4 separate regions of the Homo sapiens genome follow, and all the other regions are linked to region 1. The links are contacts of gene promoters, found by promoter capture Hi-C in blood cells and fetal thymus (Javierre and others, 2016). All regions are on one chromosome and are shown on one strand. Each heading gives the region's core, a stretch centred on a gene start or on the middle of the fragment in contact. The rest is flanking DNA. Distances are from core to core; before and after follow the strand shown. Region 1 holds the start of METTL9 (methyltransferase 9, His-X-His N1(pi)-histidine). Region 2 has its middle 140 kb from the start of HS3ST2. Region 3 has its middle 35 kb from the start of LINC02890. Region 4 has its middle 19 kb from the start of LINC02890.

Region 1 (2,795 bases), core at 80-2,579:
AAAATGATGAGACACAAGATGATATAGGGAATAATTAATACTCTATGGAAAAGCAAAATGTATTATAAATGCTAGCTATGACAAGCCAACACTCTGGCAGAGTTCAAAAGCCTCTTTTCAATGAATTTAACATTAACTGCAAACTATGTTAAGGTCATATACGAAATATCTCACTTAATTCTACAGTTAACCTGTACACGTTTAAGTGGCGCAAGACTGAGCTAATGAAAAGCCTACCTACCCGGTCACAGCGTAACGCTCACGATGCATAACTAAAACTCCCTCCCGTCCCGTTCTGTTTTAAAAACCCTTCCTGTAAAACTTGCATAATCTTCCTCCTCATCACACACAATCTTTCTAGCAGGCTGACTAAATCCAAGTTTAAAGGAGATCTCTGCTAGGTAGGAGGGGAAGGTTCCGTAGGATGGGAGCGACAACCTGTCAAACCCATTTTTTAAGTGCTTAGGGAGAAATGTCACCCCAATCAGCCTGGAGAGTTCAATGGCTTGCGATGTACAGTTACATTTCTTCACGACCCTTTGTACGTTCTGGGATTCAACGAGACAACAAGAGGGGCTGGCTTTTCGTTTTGTTTCTCGGGGTAATGGATCTGGCCGGGTCTCTTCAGTCTCAGGCCTCGGTGCCAGGCGGGCGCCCCCAGCCACGCTCTGGCCCCAAAGTTCCCCAGTCCCGCTGCCGGGCGTCCGCAGTCACCGCCCGGGACCCAGGAACAATGCGGGGCTCCGGGCCGCTCACGATCGGGCCCGGGAGGCCATGCCCCGCCTGCGCTGCGGAACAAAAGGCGCTCGCGGGGCCGCGGCCGGGTGCCCGGGGCTCGCGGAGTCGACGCCCGGCGGGGAAGGCGCGGGGAAAACTTTCCAAGGGGCCGAGGCGGAGGGGCGAGGGCCGGGCCGCCCCCTCGCGGAGCCGTCCCGCACAATAGCCGGGCCCAGCGCGGGAAGGCCGGGCCGCCACGCCCCCGCCCCGGCCCCGGCCCCAGCCCGTACCTGGTGGTTCTCCTTCCTGCCGCCCGCGGCCGCCGCCGGCCCACCCGGGCCGCTAGTCATGTTCACGTACAGGGAGCGGGTGAGCGGGCTCCGCAGCGTCCACATCCTCCGCGCCAGCCACACGGACGCCAGGCTCAGGCACAGCCAGCCCGCCAGCAGTCTCATCGGGGGCCGCGGCCGCTCGCTCGGATCACCGCCGGCGCCGGGGCGAGGAGGAGGAGGCACCGCCGCCTCCGGCCACCGCCGCCACCGCCCGAGCTCGAGCCATCGCGGCCGCCTTGCCCATCCAGCCCCCTTCAGGGCAAAGGCTGGGGGTGGGGAGGAGCAGCCGGCGCGCAGCCTCGGCACCTCCCCCTTCCCTTCCGGCCGCGGAACGCCGCTGCCCCCTGCACCAGTTTCCATCCGGAGCACTTACGAGCGGCCGCGTCGCTTTCTCCCCCGGCGCCCTCCCTCCGTCCAATGAGCGGGCCGCTGGGAGGCGGGACAAAGGGAGCGCGCATCCGCCCGGAGCGCGTTCTCGTGTCCCGGCCCTGCCTTGGCCTCTAGTAAATGGCGGAGGTGGTTTTAATTTTTTTGAGGGCTGAGGAGATCACTTCCGAAGGCGGTAACTGCAGCCTCCCTGCCCCTCCAAGGTGGTGCTGGAAGGACCTCCAGTCTTTCCTCGCCTCATCCCACTCCACGGCGGGACTTTGACAGGGTTACCTCTCGACCCTCATCCCACTCCACGGCGGGACTTTGACAGGGTCGTGCAGTTAACCCCGGGGGCGCAAAGAGGGGAGTCATTCCTTTCGTGCATCCTGACACACACAGGTTCTTCCCGGAGACGAATGGTGCCAGTGATGGTTGCCCGCTCGGATGCGTAGTTTCCAGTTTACATTTAGAACCGACCTGCCAGACTCCCTCCTCTACTCTCCCCACCACCACGACCCGCCTGCCCCGTTCCCCAAGCCTGAGAAGTTGCTGGCTACGTGTTTCTATAAAGAATGAGTGAAAATTCTGCCTTTTGGGGAAGCTACCGCAGCTGGGGTACCCACAAGTAATGTTTTAGATGTATTGATGGCCCTGCCCAAGAATGAAGACCTCAAGTTAGACTCCTTGGCTGCCTTGTTTCCTTGAATTAGCACAGGGAAGTTGGACCCAACACTCTTAAGAGTGAACTCAGCTCTGGGAGCAGTGTTTAACCCGGATATTTATTTGATCATTTATAACACGAGGAGACCTAGCAACATTTCAGAACTGAAGGGTTAGTTACACTGTGTTCCTGTCTGCAGTTCTTCCTGCTATTATCCAAGCCACAATTAAGGAGTAACATTTCGTGGGAGTCCCTAACTTTAATACTTTCCTAGGTTTGTTTGGAAAGTGCTTTTAATTTAACTGCACCAGAAATAATGTAAATGTGTCTAAGTTCAAAACAAAAGAAGTAAGCCTTTTGGTTAATTCAGCGTTGCACATCAGAGATTTTCATTTATGAAACAGTGGGGTGGTGAGCCACAGATGGGGAACAAAATCATTCCTTACCCAACAGCTTTTTTTTTTTTTTTTTTTTGAAACGGAGTGGAGTCTCGCTCTGTCTCCAGGCTGGAGTGCAGTGGCTCGATCTCGGCTCACTTCAAACTCCGCCTCCCGGGTTCAAGCAATTCTTCTGCCTCAGCCTCCCGAGCAGCTGGGACTACGGGTGCGCGCCACCATGCCCAGCTAATTTTTGTGTTTTTCGTAGAGACGGGATTTCACCATGTTGGCCAGGATGGTCTCCATCTCTTGACCTCGTGATCCGCCTGCCTCGGCCTC
Region 2 (2,795 bases), core at 179-2,678, 1.4 Mb before region 1:
AATTGTCCCAACTGTAATAGCGCTTACTAAAATTTCACCAATGATTCCCCTAATGTTTGTTTCCTGTTCCATGATCCAGTCCAGGATCCCACATTACATTTGTTTTATTTTTTTTATTTTTTTAATTTTTGAGATGGAGCCTCACTCTGTCGCCCAGGCTAGAGTGCAGTGGTGCGATCTCGGCTCACTGCAACCTCTGCCTCCTGGGTTCAAGTGATTCTCCTGTGTCAGCCTCCCGAGTAGCTGGGATTACAGGCGTGCACCACCATGCCAGGCTAATTTTTTGTATTTTTAGTAGAGACAGGGTTTCACTGCATTGGCTAGGCTGGTCTCGAACTCCTGACCTCAAGTGATCCACCTGCCTTGGCCTCCCAAAGTACTGTGATTACAGGCGTCAGCCACCACGCCCAGCCCACACTGCATTTAATTGTTGTGCCTCCTTGGTTTCCTCCAGGCTGTGCCATTTCTTGTCTTTCATGACCTTGACACTTTTGATGAGCACTGGTCAGTTATTTTGTAGACTGTCTCTCAATCTGGGTTTGTCTGATGTTTTCTCATGATTAAATTGTGCTTGTGCATTTTAGACAAGGATTCCACCAACATGAGGTTGTGTTCATCTCAGTGCATCCTACCAGGGGGTCGTAAAGTTCCTATGTCTTATAGTAACTTCGTTTTCTTATTTTTACATATGAGTTAAGGAGTTATAGAGATTAAGTAACTCACCTGAGGCCCATAGTTTTGAACATGGCAGAATCATGAGCCACATCGAAATGGTCTTGGGAGCAGGAAGGATTAATAGATGTTAGAAATCCAGGCTTGAAATGCAGGTAAGAGATCATGACTGCACTGTGATTTAAATTGTCATTTGCATGTAGATACCAACTAAATTAAGGCGATTCCCCCTTCCCAGGGGGGAAATCTGGAGCTCCCGGGTGGCTTATTCAGTAACATAAGTAGCATCAGCGGACCAGGTGGGCCCAGGGAGAGATGCAAGCACCTGCTTCCTCTACAGGGCCAGCTTTACTCAGCTGAGCTACCTGTGTCCACAAAGGAATGTGGTCCAGTGTGGCCAGATCCTCCAATTAATTGAAGAAGAGCATTCAGTTTGGTTTTTAAATATTGGGAACAAATTACAAACAATATGAGCAACCCTGTATGGGCCAAACAAAACACATCTTTTTTGCTGGATGTGGCTTACATGTCACCTCTGGGCAAGGAGAGCAGAAAGCTGAGAAGCACTTTGGGGTAAAGGAGGAGGAAGAGAGGCCAGCCTCCAAGACCCAGAAGTCTTGATGCAAAGATGGACATAGCAAGACAGGGTAGCACCACAAAGGCCAGTAGGGGAGGGTAGGAGAAGGCAGATGTGTCCACATTCAGGATTGTGGCAGCAAGGTGGAGAACAATATTGCAGAGATTGCCAGGAGCCCAATCATTCCTTCTTAGCCACGAAATTTGCTTTGGTCAATTAAATGTAAGCAGAAATGACTTGTGTCACTTCTAAGCAGAACCATTAAAAGCTAGTACACAGTTAAGAACCTCTTCGTCGTATTCTTTTTTTTTTTTATTTTTTTTGAGATGGAGTCTCGCTTTGTCACCCAGGCTGGAGTGCAGTGGCTTGATCTCAGCTCACTGCAGCCTCTGCTTCCCAGGTTCAAGTGATTCTCCTGCCTCAGCCTCCCTAGTAGCTGGGACTACAGGCACGCACCACCATGCCTGGCTAATTTTTTTGTATTTTTAGTAGAGATGCGGTTTCACTATGTTGGCCAAGCTGGTCTTGAACTCCTGACCTTGTGATCCTCCCGCCTCAGCCTCCCAAAGTGCTGGGATTACAGGCGTAAGGCACCACGCTCGGCCTCTCTTAGTAATATTTTAAGTAGAGGATGTGCTATCAACCAGAGTCCCAGAATTAAGATAACATGGAGCAGTTATCAACCTGTGCTGGAAATGTGAAATGAACAAGAAATAACCTTCGCTGTGTCAAGCCACTAAGATTTGAGATTGTTCCTGCAGCAGGACTTAACCCATTCTGATTGACACTAGCTCATTTATCTGCAGCCAGTCACTTGGTTTCCTGGTCTTATAAATGAAAGGATATTTTCTTCACTTTGCCTAAAGGAATTTCAAACAATTTTTTACTTCTGTGAAACATTTTTCCAAATTTGTACCACTTTATCTTTGTGGTGCCTTTTTTCTCTTCTGTCTGCTGAATAACCTCTCTTGAATGTGTATATTTCTTCCAATAAATATTTTCAGACCTGCAGCATTTTGTACAGGATTTACTAAATTCATCCCTTTTGATTATTTTTGTCTCCTTGATTTTTTTTTGTTTTGTACTATGCATGTCTGAGTAAACTTCATGAGCTAAACCAAGTTTGTATGTAGTCAATGTTCTCTCCTGTTTAAGAAGGCACTGGCATTTTGACAGCAAGGATGAAGACATGTGGTAGATGGGTTCAGAATTGTATTGAATTCCACTCTATTTTTCAAGATATTTAATTCATAAAGTAATTTTGGGATCACGAGACATAATGAAACATATAACATTACAACCAAATATATTTATGACTAAATTATAAAACTTTGCAGGAAAGGCCTCTAGACAAGCTGGCAAAAAGTCATTAAAGTATTTGAACATTGATTCAGTCACTAAATATTTACTGAATGCCTCAAGTATACTAGGGATACATCAAGGAATGACAGGCGGCTACTCTCATAGGATGCCCATTAGGGCAGTGGAGCAGAGTGGTTAGAGGCAGGCTTTGGAGCCAGTAGTATGACTAAGCAATTGACTTCAT
Region 3 (2,795 bases), core at 208-2,707, 1.0 Mb before region 1:
CATAAAAAACAAGATTATGTCCCTTGCAGGCACACAGATGGAGCTGGGGGCCATTATCCTTAGCAAACTAACACATGAACAGAAAACTAAATACCACACGTTCTCATAAGTGGGAGCTAAATGATAAGAACACATGGACACATAGAGGGGAAAAACACACACTGGGGCCTTTCAGAGAGTGGAGGGTGGGAGCAGGAGAGGATCCAGAAACATAACTAATAGGTACTAGGCTTAATTCCTGGATGATTAAATAACCTACAGCAAACCCCCATGACACAAGTTTACCTATGTAGCAAACCTGCACTTGTACCCCTGAACTTAAAATAAAAGTTTAAAAAAGAAAAGAAACAGAAAAACTAGCCCTGGCACCCTCCCAACTATTTTTCCTGAAACTATCAAAAAAAAAAAAAAAAAAAAAAAAAGAGGCAGTCTTGTTTCTGGGATCACTGCAATAAAAGCAATGGGAACCTACAGGTGCCAATGCCATATTTGCTGCCATGTAGATAGAGTTTGATAAAAAAGAAAGTAGATACAGAGAAAACGAGTTAGAGTGGGGGAAGAGAAAGAGCTAATGACATCATTTGGACACCTACATACAGCCATACTTGAAGCTGGAAGGGTTTATCCATTAAATTTCTGGGTTACAAGAGCCAATGATTTTCCTTTGGGGTTTGTGCTGGGTTTCTGTCACTTGCAACCAAAATCCTCCCAACTGTGGTGAGTTTGCGTATATTGGGACCACACCCTGATTCTAGAACAAGACCTTTGCATCCATAAGAACTGGACTTTCTAAATGCTGGGTCCAGGTAATATTTGAACTGGTCTCACCATTGTTCCTGGATAGCTCTCTGATTTCCTACTATGAGGCAACCTCTAGAGGATTCTTGGCTCAATAATGCACCAAGCTCATGGGACGAGTTCACAGTGTGTACCTGTTATATTGGTCACAACAAGAATTTGAGTCTCTACAAACCTCATGGCTTACACCACTGTATATTGGCTGGACGCACTTAAATGAGGTCCAGGCCGGAACATGTACAGAAACCCAAGTTATAAATTACAAGTTACTCTGGATAATTTTGGAAAGGGGGTCCTTGAATTCACAGGTCTGCCAGAAAGCCTATGCAGGCCGGATCTCCAAAGGCTCATTTGAAAACACAGTACCTTCCTAAACAGACTTTTATCATAAGGCTTTTTGCCTTTTCTTAAACTATATACCACAGGACTATTCAATAGCGTTGTAAGGGAAAGAAGAAAGTAAATAGAACTGTGCATTAGAAGGCTTTGTAAACTCTTTAGCAGGGGGTAATAGAAGTGCTCGATGTGAAGCTTCTGTTCTGATCAGGTGGAAAGGCAAGACATTGAAATACTAAGAGTTTAAATAAACTTTGAACATACCATCAGAATATTCCAAATAGGATCATTTAGCCATAATACATAGACATCCCCAACTACAACAACAATAATAGGAAGCACTAATATTTACCGAGTACTTGTGTGCCAGCACTAAATGAAACACTTTTTGTTAATTACTTCATTATTCTTCCTCATATAACAACCCAATGAAGTCAGTACCAAAGCTTAGAAGAAACTAAAGCTTATAGAGCTTCTATAAGGCAGGATAAGCTACATGACGCTGAAGTAACAAAAACCTCAACATCTCAATGGCTTAACACAACAAAAGTTTACTTCTTGCTCATGTTGCACAAACAATGCAGGCTGGCAGAGAAGACGCCACCCATCTTGGGCTAATGGGGCTTTTGTCTGAATTGTGTTTCCATGACCACTGCAGCAGGAGGAAGAAAACATGAGAAATTGCACTCTAGTCCATATGGGCGCTTCCAAATGGAACTGACAGATATTGCTTCTTCTTGCATTTCATTGACCAAACGAGTCCCATGCCCACATTTGACTTCAAGGTGAAGAGAGGGGAGGAGTATGATCCAATTCGTGCCCAGAAGTAACAGAATTGGAAATATTTAATTAACAGCATTGAACACAACCGCAGGGCACAAGCTGGTCTGTCCTCTTCTAGAAACAGAGATGTCACAATAACCTTGGAAAATTCAGTTTATCTTTGTGCCATTGCTCCAAGTGAAAACTTTAAAGTTGAAAATCTCTTTGTTTCAATTGCCCACATCATAACAGAAATTCTCTCTCTTTTCCCTCCGGACCCCCATTTCTGTCTGTAACACCTTCCTATAGGAATTATCATCTTTTCACTTTATTATAATAGAATTTGTGGTCTCCTGGGCATAAAACTCTTTAAAGGGACACATTTGAGTCAGGGGGGTTGTGAGGTTTTTTATTTTTTCCTCCAAAGAAAGTTTAAAAACCTTCATTTTGTATTCAGGAATAAATGAGAAGTGGTGTTATTTATAATTGGCTCCCTCTAATTCAGACTAAATATAGATTAATCCTAATTGATAAGACATAAAATTTAATTAAACCTTAATAAAGAACCTGGGAAAGAGTTCTCAATAGATGATATCAATGGTAATGTTGGATGCTGCATGCTGCAGTACTTCAGATAAAACACAATTCGTAGAAGTATTTTCAGGGCTTTGTGCAAGTCAAGATATGGGTCATTATCTCAAACAGAGCATTCATTAAAATTATGGATAAATCTGAGAGATGGTGTTCTCCATACAGCTCACCGATAAGAGCCTGGCCCACAAGAACTCCCAACAATCTCCTCAGCCTGTTGGTCAGGAGGACGCTCAGTTCCTTGACCTTGAAGCCACACTGAGTCACAGAAGTTGCTGTCACAGACTACGGTGTTATCAGATAAACCC
Region 4 (2,795 bases), core at 209-2,708, 1.0 Mb before region 1:
AGGAACAAGTACAAAAATAGAGATATGGGCAAATGTCAGTGGTGATACAGAGGAGGGGTGATCAACTCTACCTACAGGGGTTGGAGATGGTGCCACAGATTTTCATGGTGTAGCTTAGAGGAAGATGTTAGCTAGACAGACAAACTGTAGAAAGGGGGGTTTCCATCAAGAGTGTTCTCTTGCTGTTGCAAGAACACTTGACGACGTGCGTCCTGTTCTGGGAACCACAGGAGTTTTATCTGGCTAAAGCAGAAGGTGCCAGTGTCTGTTCTATTTTGGCTCCTTTAAAAATCCACCCAAGGCCAGCTGTTGTGGCTCATGCCTGTAATCCCAACACTTTGGGAGGCCGAGGTGAGAGGATCGCTTGAGGCCAGGAGTTTAGGACCAGCCTGGGCAACATAGCAAGACATCCCCATCTCTACAAAACATAAAAAATTAGCTAAGCATGGTGAGGTGTGCCTGTAGGCCCAGCTACAGGGAGGCTGAGGCAAGAGAATCCCTTAAGCCCAGGAATTCAAGGCTACAATGAGCTACGATCTCACGTCACTGCACTCCAGCATGAGTGACAAAGTGAGATCCTGTCTCTAAATAAATAAATAATTTTTTAAATTAAATAAGTATAAATAAAAAGCTTTTAAAAATAAAATCCACCCAGGTGGACATGTAAACTGCACAACCCCTTTGAAAGGCAGCATGGCTATGTCTATTGAAATTTAAAATGTGCCTGTCTCTGTAATAATTACGGAGGCAATGGATTCAGGTCCTCATGGCCCAGTTAGTTTTTCTCTGTCTCACAAGCATAATTATACATTTCCTCCACAAAATGTGCGATCACGAGGGAAAAAAAAAATCTTGGATGGGTTAACAGAGGTTCATATTCATTATGGAAATACATTACGATTGTGTTTTCTTTCCAAGGTCTGTTGTCCTAACAAGATCTTAAGCATTGTGAGAAGAAAGGCTGTGCCTGTTCTGTGAATCCTGTTATCAGCAGTGCCTAAGATAATGCCACCACACAAGACCTTAGCAAATATTTAGTACAGACATACATACTTGGATAACTAAATGAATGAATAAAACATCTCAAAGCCTAAATCTACAAAAATTTTAAAAAATAATAAAATGCTTATGTCTTGTTTGTAGTAGCAAAAGATCAGGGAAAAGTGATCTATAAGAGACTAGTTAAAAAAATTATAGCACATCTATGTAAAGAAATACTATGTAAATTAAATACTATGTAAAAAGGCATGAGTTAGCCGGGTGCTGTGGCTCACACCTGTAATCCCAGCACTTTGGGAGGCCAAGGCAGGTGGATCACTTGAGGTCAGGAGTTCAAGACCAGCCTGGCCAACATGGTGAAACCCCATCTCTACTAAAAGTACAAAAATTAGCCAGGCGTGGTGGCACGTGCCTGTAATCCCAGCCACTCAGGAGGCTGAGGCAATAGAATCACTTGAACCCAGGAGGCAGAGGTTGCAGTGAGCTGAGATTGTGCCACTGCACTCCAGCCTGGGCCACAGAGCAAGACTCTGTCTCCAAAAAAAAAAAAAAAAAATAGCATGAGTATACACTCTCTATAGTTATAGAAGATTTATGGTTATGGGAAGAGCTCCAAGATATATTATCAAGTGAAAAAAAGTGAAATAAAGAAGAATATATATATATATATATATATATATATATATATAGTATGGTATCTTTTGTGTAAGAAAGAAGAGAAAATAGGAATACATGTTCTTCTTTGCTTTGTTTTCATAAAGGAACTGTGGAGGTATACACAACAAATTAATATCTACAGGGGTGAGAGAAGGGAAAATAGATTAGGAAAAAGATGGGGGAAAGACTTTGTGACATATATCTTGCATATCATTTTTTATTTTTGAATTAACTAAATGTGTGACCTATTCAAAAAGGAGAACTTAATTTTAACATGGGCCTGCCTCATGGCCCAGAAATTTCAGTCTTGGTATCAACCATAGAGAATCACTCACACATGTGCATAAGGAGGTATATAGAAGGATATTTGTTGTAGTACTGCTTATTATAGAGGAAAACACAGTAGAAATAACCAAAATGTCCATTAGTGGAGTTACAGAATAAACTGTGGCACGTTCATACTTTGAATATTATGCAGGAGTTAAAACCACGAGGTAGATGTATGTCTACTAACATGGACAAATCTCCAAGATTTACTATTGCGTAAGAAAAATCGAGAATGGTGATTGTCAGGGGCAAGGGGAGGGGAAAGCGATGGGCAGATGTAGGTCAAAGGGTACAAAGCTTCAGTTAGGAATAAGTTCAGGAGATCCATTGCATAGCATGGTGACTATAGTTAATAATAACGTATTGTAAGCAAGGTGTAGTGACTCACGGCTGTAATCCTAGCCCTTTAGGAGGCCGAGGTGGGCAGATAGCTTGAGTTCAGGAGTTCGAGAGCAGCCTGGCCAACATGGTGAAACCTCATCTCTACAAAAAATACAAAACTTAGCCTGGTATAGTGGCGTGCGCCTGTAATCCCAGCTACTTGGGAGGCTGAGACATGAGAATCACTTGAACTGGGGAGGGGGAGGTTGCAGTGAGCTGAGATGGTACCACTGCACTCCAGCCTGGGCAACAGAGCAAGACTCTGTCCAAAGTAATAATAATAATAATTAATAATAATAATAATAATAATGTATTGTATACTTGAAAATTGCTAAGAGTAGATTTTTTTTTTTGAGACAGAGTCTCACTCTGTTGCCCAGGCTGGAGTGCAGTGGTGTGATCTCGGCTCACTGCAACCTCAGCCTCCTTGG

What was found. Contacts are between HindIII fragments. The CHiCAGO score rates a contact against its expected background, and 5 or more counts as called.
Region 2: a contact is called between a fragment that was not itself captured here and the fragment with the promoter of METTL9 in region 1, in 2 of 17 cell types (naive B cells and monocytes). The highest score is 6.3, in naive B cells.
Region 3: a fragment that was not itself captured here is called in contact with the fragment with the promoter of METTL9 in region 1 in 1 of 17 cell types (M2 macrophages); the score reaches 6.8 in M2 macrophages.
Region 4: a fragment that was not itself captured here is called in contact with the fragment with the promoter of METTL9 in region 1 in 1 of 17 cell types (M2 macrophages); the score reaches 5.1 in M2 macrophages.

Annotation. Positions count from the first base shown.
Region 1 is chr16:21,598,111-21,600,905 of GRCh38, reverse strand. METTL9 (methyltransferase 9, His-X-His N1(pi)-histidine) reads right to left here and starts at 1,329. Exons shown (of 5, transcript NM_016025.5): 1 at 1,008-1,329. The coding sequence starts at 1,172. It overlaps LOC101927814 (a long non-coding RNA gene), which reads left to right and starts at 1,521. Exons shown (of 3, transcript NR_110930.1): 1 at 1,521-2,250. RefSeq lists an enhancer at 50-614 and a silencer at 723-1,342. The HindIII fragment of the contact is 7,148 bases long and covers 1-2,795 here.
Region 2 is chr16:22,951,929-22,954,723 of GRCh38, reverse strand. No RefSeq gene overlaps it. Among named protein-coding and RNA genes, the nearest start is that of HS3ST2, 140 kb to the right of the region's middle. RefSeq lists an enhancer at 663-1,173. The HindIII fragment of the contact is 4,976 bases long and covers 1-2,795 here.
Region 3 is chr16:22,647,242-22,650,036 of GRCh38, reverse strand. No RefSeq gene overlaps it. Among named protein-coding and RNA genes, the nearest start is that of LINC02890, 35 kb to the right of the region's middle. The HindIII fragment of the contact is 251 bases long and covers 1,332-1,582 here.
Region 4 is chr16:22,630,901-22,633,695 of GRCh38, reverse strand. No RefSeq gene overlaps it. Among named protein-coding and RNA genes, the nearest start is that of LINC02890, 19 kb to the right of the region's middle. The HindIII fragment of the contact is 1,649 bases long and covers 634-2,282 here.